3 separate regions of the Homo sapiens genome follow, and regions 1 and 2 are each linked to region 3. The links are contacts of gene promoters, found by promoter capture Hi-C in blood cells and fetal thymus (Javierre and others, 2016). All regions are on one chromosome and are shown on one strand. The core of a region is centred on a gene start or on the middle of the fragment in contact, and the rest is flanking DNA. Distances in the headings are between cores, read along the strand shown. Region 1 overlaps COL1A2 (collagen type I alpha 2 chain). Region 2 has its middle 180 kb from the start of COL1A2-AS1. Region 3 holds the start of GNG11 (G protein subunit gamma 11).

Region 1 (2,700 bases), core at 105-2,604, 480 kb before region 3:
TTTCACTGATATTTCAAAGTAAAATACTCTGCTTTATGCCAAGACAGATGTTCCGAAAACAGGGGTATCTGAAATCCATATTAATTTTCCCAGCTTAGTGGGCTTTTTAAAAATGACATTTAGTAGCTCTTTACTTTCCGCCCCCTTGCTTCTTCTTGAGATGTAGGTACTGCTTTAAAACTGACTAATGTCCAGCATTAGCTGAAACAGCTAATTTCAAAAATCCAATATAAACAAAGCCAAAAGAAACACTCTACTTTTTCATTTCAGATATGAACATTTTAAACTACCAGAAAAAATTAGGGAATTAGAAGTCGTCAATTAAAGGTACATTATTTCTCAAGTGGGAGTTTTAATTTACAGAAAATATTATCTCACCCTTAGAGTATATTAGCTTACTGTGGGCCATTAGCTCCAGCAGAACATCTTCTTTTGAAGATAGAGCACTAAGTGCACTGCCCAGGTAAAATTTACATTTTAAAGACCTTGTTGACTTTGGGCAGATAAATACCTTTGTTTTGAAACAATTAATTAAAATCACTAAATTGCGTGTGTGTGTATACATTAAATTCTGTAGTGCTTAATCAACCTAACACTTTGACTTCTGGCAGTTTTCCCCTCTATTTCATATATGCTAGTATACATTTTGCATGCTCGTATTAGCATTTTTCCCTTCAAACTTCTCTCTAATGCTTGTTAGAAGCTTCATTTGTTAATAGTCATCATCATCATCATCATCATATAGGGAATGTTTCTAAGCGGTGCTCCACTGATAGGGTATGGTGCTGAATATTTGTACTGAGTGACATAAATGCTAGATTTTTACTCATACTCTCTTCTATATAGATTTACAATCAATAGACTAAAAAAGGATTTTTTTGGTCAAAATTCAGAAAAAGAAACATTTCCTATATTGTTAACTCCTTGAGGAAGGATCAGAATCTGTCATATTCCTTGTAATTTCCCCAGTTCCTAATACAGTTTAGGGCCCATTGAAGGCATCTGATTAATATCTGTTGACTAAATGAGTGGTTTATTCAAGGACTAGGTACATAAACCATGATGTAAGCAAATATTAGACATCTTGCCTGGCATCTAGTTCTAGTTATGTCATTAGTTACCTGGATGACTTTGAGAAAAGGGCTTAAACTCTCCCATTTTAAAATGAGTTAGCTGGACTAGATAGAACTTGTTGATCCTTTCCAACAAGTTCAGAGAACTTAATAAATAGTTCTATGCCTCTAAGTGTTGCTTAAAATTCTAAGCAATGTTAAAGAATATTAAAAAATTAATCAGAGTGATTACTGTTTTAAATTAAATTGATTTGCCCAAGTTATGGTTACTATGTCCAAAGATTATTTCTTGGACATAAGTATATGATCTATCTTAATGAGGATCATATAATCAAAAAGATCATATAATCATAAAAGATCAATTAATCTTTCTTTTGTAAAGAAAAGTGAACTCCTTAACTTATGTTTTCATAAATTTGAAAACAAAAAGAGTTGTTTTTATATAATCTAAGTATTGAGTGTTAACTTAGGTAGCTAAATAAATGGCGTGGTAAAATGTGACATAAAATGAATGATTTATTTAGCAATTTTTTTGGCTAAGATAAACAGATAAGCATACCATTGGTCCAGGGCCAAGTCCAACTCCTTTTCCATCATACTGAGCAGCAAAGTTCTAGAGAAGTAAAAAAAAAAAATTATATATATATATAAAATATTTTTAGTTACTAGTCATGTAGTTCATTTTCTCATTCTACTTGTAAATATTTTTCTGTTGTTATTTAAAAGAGGGCAATGTTTTTGATATAATTATTAGTTTAAAATTCTATATTGAACTAAATTCCTAAAAAGTTATGAGAGCTGTACGTCAAAAACTTGGCCGACACCTCTTTGAAATGGAGAACTTCCCTACTTTACTTTTTGAGCCCTTCCTCTGCCTTAACTCGGTGTCTCCACTCCCACCTTTTACCTCTACTCTGAGGAAGGGAAGCTTTCTAAACTTTTAATGTTACTAAGGGCTCCTGACAAATTAGACAGAGCTCAAGAGGACATCTTCACATTTTCACCTGTTGCCCTTCCCCACCGGAGCTACACAAAATGACTAAGAGATCTTTTTCTTGCTGGAGTTTCAGGAAGGGCATAAAGAGTTTTCAAGTTTAGAGGAAAATTAAATTAAAATACCCCTTGGAAGATAAAACTTCTAAAAACTAGTTCACAGTAATAACTTTACTGTTAAAGATCTCTCTTATAGTGGTAGCTCTATTAAAGAAGCTGCTTTTTAATGCAATTCATAGATAAGCAATCATAATAAGATCTTTGGGGGAGAAAGGTCTTATTTTACTGACATACAGTTGGGTATTAGAATCAGGCTTCTGATTCATAGTGCTAACCAATTAAGCAAATATGTTTTCCTTCCTGCAGTGAGGTCATTTGGCACTCATACCATTGTTAAAGACATGAAGCTAAAAGAAGATATTAATGAAAAAGGGAAATGTACTTTTCTCAAATTAGTTTCAAGCAAATTAAACCTAAAACCGCTTTGAATGTTGGTTCAGCAGACTTCAAGTCAAGGAGAATAAAAAGCGTAGGATGTTTGTAAAATTGCTTAAGATCAGGGATTTCACTTACACAGTTCAATCTAATCAAAATCCTTAATAATGCAACACCTCTTATTTGTGCCTTACTAATA
Region 2 (2,700 bases), core at 113-2,612, 290 kb before region 3:
TCTTCACACGGAAGTATGTGATATCTCATATTAGTTTGTAAACTCTGAGCCAGTTTAAAAGATAAATTGTAAGAATGAAGTGCTTAAAAACTGGGACAAACAATGAGAAATATGAAACTTTGATAATTCTTCAGAAGGGAAGCAGAAAGAGTTCTGGAAATATAAGTTAAAGTAATTAAGATTTTTTCCATGTTTATGAATTAAGTAGGCACCTTGAAAACTGCATCTGGGAGGCAGTTTTCCCTAGCATACTATGTGTTTAGCAAGAAGGAGCAAAGGAGAGGTGGCTTTGCCTAAATTTAGGGAACAGTGGTGGATTACAAAAGACATTGAGGAGAAGGGGACTCTTGAGGTGAGCTTCGATAGGTAGGAGTTAGCCAGGCAAAAGATTACTATATGAATAAATGGCACAAATGGGGTTGGTAGGGAAGTATCACACCAATTAGGAAATTTACTTTCTGGAAAGAATAATAAATGGTGTTAAAATAAACAGAGATAAGTCCTGAAAGGGGTTAGAGTTCTCAGTTGATACCACTGATACTAATCACCAAAGCTTTTGGTGTGAGGTTTTGTTTATGGTTGGTACACTATTGAATCCCTGCCTTAAATTAAGATAAAGATACGTTTCATCTTCCTTTTATTGCATGTCTACCTAAAATTGCAACTGCTGGCATTTATATTTTCTGTCTGGTGGTTCTACTCAACAGGGAGTCCTCAACAGCAAAAATTGGATTATGCGTATTCCCTGAGTGGAGCTTAGTGCCTGGTATATTGTATGTGGACTCTAGAGATACATGGAAGTGAATGAATTTGTTGGCAATTGTGTGTGTGTGTGTGTGTAGAGGTGTTTAGGGGCAACTTTCAACTCTTTTTGAGAAATGTGGACACATGGGGTAACCAGCAAATAGAACCCCATACCCTGATGCTTCCATGCTTCCAACAGAAACATGGAGAAAAAGATGACAAATATTCTAGGATAGACCATTGCCAAAGAAAGAAACTGTGAGATTGGGTTTTCTGAGAACTTAGGTAGGTAACAGAATTGAAATGGGTGTTAAGCTAGAGATTTGAAGGAGAGCAAAATCCTGACATTCTTTAAACTATTGAATTGTAAGTTCCCCAAATTTAAAATTCTCATTACATACAGTAAATTCCATATTTCTGCAATTCACTGGAAACTTAGGAGATATGAAATACCATTGATTGAGTTCTGGGACTGAAGGAGAAAGAATGCCTTCCTGTGGTCTTCTGGTTCTCAGTAGTAGTAAACATTAGGGACCAGAAATTCTGAGGCTTGAGAATAGAATATAAACCCCATGGATCGTAGCAAGGATCAAAATTGCCAGGATAGCTTTTCAAAATAGGTATAACTGAGCCCACCTTCAACACTTAAACTGAATCCAAGCATGTGCATTTATGAAGATATTTCACAATGGATGTTTATGTATAGCCCTGGATGAGGACTATTGATAAAGCATATACAAATAACAACACAGTGGCAACAATAACAACAGCTGCTGTACAGCTTATAAAACATTTTAAACTACATTATTTTACCTAATCTTCATAATAACCCTGTGAGATAAGTAGTGCTAACCCATTTTACAAAAAGAGAAGCTGATATTTGGAGAGGTCCAATAAATTTCCCATCTCTGTAGAACAGCAGAGGTACTCTCAATCCCAAGTATTCTGACTTTTCTAGTATCAAATTCTTCTTGGCACAAAGTATTTTACATCATACTGATCACATTTGAAATATTCCTTTTTCCCATCTCATTCACCATAATTCCTTCCTTATATGTATCCTACTCAGTGGAATCCCACTTTGGAAAGCTGTTTTCACACAGATATATTGGCAGGATTCTAGAAAGTTTAGTTTGGTAACTCCACTTTGGAATGAGCAACATTGACAATGATATCACTTTGATAACTCCATAGTAATATTAGCAAAATGATATTAAATATTTTAATTGCAAGAAATATACAGGGGTTTCCAATTTTAAATTGGAAATTTAAAATTTAAAATATCCAACTTTAAGAGAATTCCAGTTGCCAGATTAATGTTATACTAGTATCGGAGGAAAGTAATTAGCATTAAAGGCTAATTCTTTCCTTGCCTCACAGTTACACAATATGGTGACTAGATATTAACTTTTGAAATCAAAGCTTCAAGAATGGATATACAAATGTTCTTATTGAGCAATTTCAATCCCTGGAGAAATTTCTCAGAAAAAAAAATTGCCTTCCTGAATTAGGAGCTTTCAAATATCAGTCAAGAATTGGAGTATGTTTCCATTTATATTCTAAAAGTGTTTACAGTAATTCCTTGTTGGAGAAGTCCTTCAGTCCTTTGCCTTTTGTCTTCCCTCGCAGTGCAAGCTTTCCTTTCCACAGAGGATTTTCTATACTCACATTTTTTCTTTTGCATTTACTACATTTAATATTTCTTTCTATAATCTTGCTTTTCCTCTGTGTATTTACAGCTCATTACTTTTCTTTCCATGGAATTAATCTACATAGAGTAATGTCCCTTGATGATTAATTATTTAATAATAAATTATTATTAATGTAATCTTGATTTTAACAAAAATCTTTTTAGACAATTCCCAAAGTTTCTAGAGGTCAAAGAGAACAAATTCACAATTTAATCACAGTGCACAAAAATCATGGAGGCAGCACATTTGAATGAGACATACCCTA
Region 3 (2,700 bases), core at 107-2,606:
CTATTCAAAGACCTTTCCTAGTCTACAGGATGCCTGATTGAGTTAAAACAGGAAGAGGGATTAGTGTCTGAAGGAAGGTCTTGATGACCAGTAAGAAATTGAAGTAAAACTTATAAAACTCCCGAGACGTTTCAGTGGAGAATATTGAATACTGGGTCATATGTTCTCAATGAAATGGTAATCTCTATCAATAGTCTCTAAAACTTTAAAATTGTGATCACTAAAAAAATTTTTCATATGCACCACAGTGTATGTATAATTATTTATAAATAAGTACAGATACTACTGTATTAATCGCATACTAATAAAACATAAAGTGAAAATTATAAAGGGATGAGATTTACAAATAAATATAGAAATTCTAATATTTTGTTCCCAAATTTCGGTGGACTGTTCTTTGCATATCACTGAAGGCCACTGGTGAAATTCAAAATTAAATAATGTACTTGTAAGACTTTAAAATACGGTTTTAGAAAATTTCTTTCAAATATCATCCTTTCTAGTAGTGTAAAAGATCAAAGAACCAAGTAGCTATCCGCTTTTTTCCTACAAGTGAGTTTTGAAAAACAGCTGTCTAATGGAAAGCAAGATTTCTTGTCTATTTTCCCCTTCCTAGGCATCTTAAAAGTTAGGACATTTGGCCTTAAATTACTTATCAGATCCTTGCTCCCTCCTCTACCTCCTAGGATTTCCCCACATCAGCTGGCAGTCCCCAGGCACTGCCAAAGGGTGGTGAGAAGAGAAGCTACAAAAAGGGGGAAAAATAAGCTAAACTATTTGCTTTACTGTTACTAAGCAGGAAAAATCGGACCCTGCTTCATTTCAGAGAAGGAAATATTCCGGAACAGCCAACTTACTTGTTGTCTCTGCAACTTCACTTCTTTGCGAAGCTGCTCAACTTCCATTTTCAGTTTTTCCTTCTCTGGCAAATCTTCGATGTGAAGGGCAGGCATTTTCGCCCCAGAACCGGGCTCGGGCTAGCTCTGGCAGCGGAGCCGCTGGAAGAGCGGCGAAGCTCGGCGCGTCCCGAAACAACTGAAGGCCTGGCCCGCCGCCCACCCGCGCAGGATGTGACTGCAGCCCTGCTGCGGTCCCCAGCTCCCCGAGGGCTTGGCTTTCTCCGGGACGCTTGTCACGCCAGCGTGCCCCAGCTTCCTAGGACCTGAGAACTCTGCCTTTTCTCAAGTCCCTGCAACCCAGGAGGCCTGCCCGGGTGCTAGATGAGGGTTAAGTTTGAGACTGGGTCCAAGCAGCTTCCCGCTGCTCAATCGCCCAGCAGGGATGCTGGCCACGGACAGGCCCTGACTCAGGACCTGCCACGCCCGCGGGGGACGGCTGGGCTGGGGCTGCAGGACTGGGAACAGCAGAAGTTTTACTTTGTGTTCTCCGCGCACCCCCGCTCCTTTTTTTTTTTCCGTTTCCAAGTCACATCCGGGTTTTGTTTGTGAAGCTAGGAAAAGGAGTACACTACCCAGCAGGAAATAACTACCCTTCACCTCTCAAAGAGTTTTAAAAATATGCTAGATATAGCTTTTCCCTAATTACATACATAGGTTGTTGCAAAAGTAATTACTTTTCTCTAATTACATATATAGGTTGGTGCAATTAGTTTTGCACCAACGTAATAAATGCATAGTGGAGAATGCGGACGCTTAAGAAAAGGCTGAAAAGAAAATGAAGCTTAGCCCTAATCCCAGAAATACCCACCAGTGTTCTGCTCATTTGTGTCCATCCGGCTTGTTCGAGGCCTAATATGGGTTTATACATTTTGGGCGAGGAGGGGGCAACAGGGTGTGAATATCGTTTACAAGTTGCAAGAACATTTTCTATTATTAAATAATCATCTGCATCCTCAACAGCAGCAGAGTTTGTATTTTTTTTATTTTTCCGGGGGAATGTTATGTAGAGGGGTGCATCAAAGGATGATATAAGAGAAGACAGAAGCAGGAATCTTAGAGTTCTTAACCGAAAGCCTTTCTCCACTCCCCAACCCTAAGTTTTGGGTGACACTTGACACCAAGGATTTTGAATTCCTGGCTCCTGAACCTTCCTGGATGTAGGCAGTGGATTCATTTAGTATTAGTTTCTCCACTTTCTGGCAAGCACTATTTATCTAGCTGTTGCTCTGGAAAGCCAGGAAAAGTGTCCGATGTGAAAAAAGTTTACATGCAATAAAACTTTCCCTTTAACTGTAACTAAAGTCTTGTTGATGGTGGTCAAAAGAGTAGAAGAAAAATCAAACATGAATGTAAGAAACCTTCCCTAGCAGTTGGATATTTCTCTTTCTTTCCAGAGATAACCTCCTGCCTCACAGAGTCAAAGGCAAGTGAAATATTAACTTAATATTTCAGAGTAGCTGACCCAAGACACCCATGACCATTCCCTGTTTAGGAAGCAGGAGTTTTTGTTCGTTCCTAGTTTCTTACCACGCTCCGCTCAACCTCAATGAATAAATTAGAATGAAAAAAACAATGAACCACTTAATGAATACTCCTGGCGTGTAGTTGCAGCTCTGCCACAGGCCATCACTGAAGAAGTCATTTAATTTTTCTTAGTTTTGGTTTTCTAATTTGTAAAATGTATAGTAAGGCAGGGAAGTAGTGAATCAGCTAAGCTATGTTGTGTCTCTAATTGTGTTGGTATGTCTATATATGATAAATCATTTTCACAAAGAAAATGTTTAAGAGCTTCACTTTCAAT

Evidence for each region. Contacts are between HindIII fragments. The CHiCAGO score rates a contact against its expected background, and 5 or more counts as called.
Region 1: a contact is called between a fragment that was not itself captured here and the fragment with the promoter of GNG11 in region 3, in 1 of 17 cell types (naive B cells). The highest score is 5.1, in naive B cells.
Region 2: a contact is called between a fragment that was not itself captured here and the fragment with the promoter of GNG11 in region 3, in 1 of 17 cell types (endothelial precursors). The highest score is 5.1, in endothelial precursors.

What each region holds. Positions count from the first base shown.
Region 1 is chr7:94,400,553-94,403,252 of GRCh38, reverse strand. COL1A2 (collagen type I alpha 2 chain) reads right to left here. Exons shown (of 52, transcript NM_000089.4): 6 at 1,633-1,686. Among named protein-coding and RNA genes, the nearest start is that of COL1A2, 7.0 kb to the right of the region's middle. The HindIII fragment of the contact is 1,298 bases long and covers 706-2,003 here.
Region 2 is chr7:94,205,974-94,208,673 of GRCh38, reverse strand. No RefSeq gene overlaps it. Among named protein-coding and RNA genes, the nearest start is that of COL1A2-AS1, 180 kb to the left of the region's middle. The HindIII fragment of the contact is 1,613 bases long and covers 556-2,168 here.
Region 3 is chr7:93,920,391-93,923,090 of GRCh38, reverse strand. It overlaps GNG11 (G protein subunit gamma 11), which reads right to left and starts at 1,356. Exons shown (of 2, transcript NM_004126.4): 1 at 858-1,356. The coding sequence starts at 953. All of the region lies in intron 1 of LOC105375402 (a long non-coding RNA gene), which reads left to right. RefSeq lists an enhancer at 1,119-1,754. The HindIII fragment of the contact is 4,145 bases long and covers 1-1,682 here.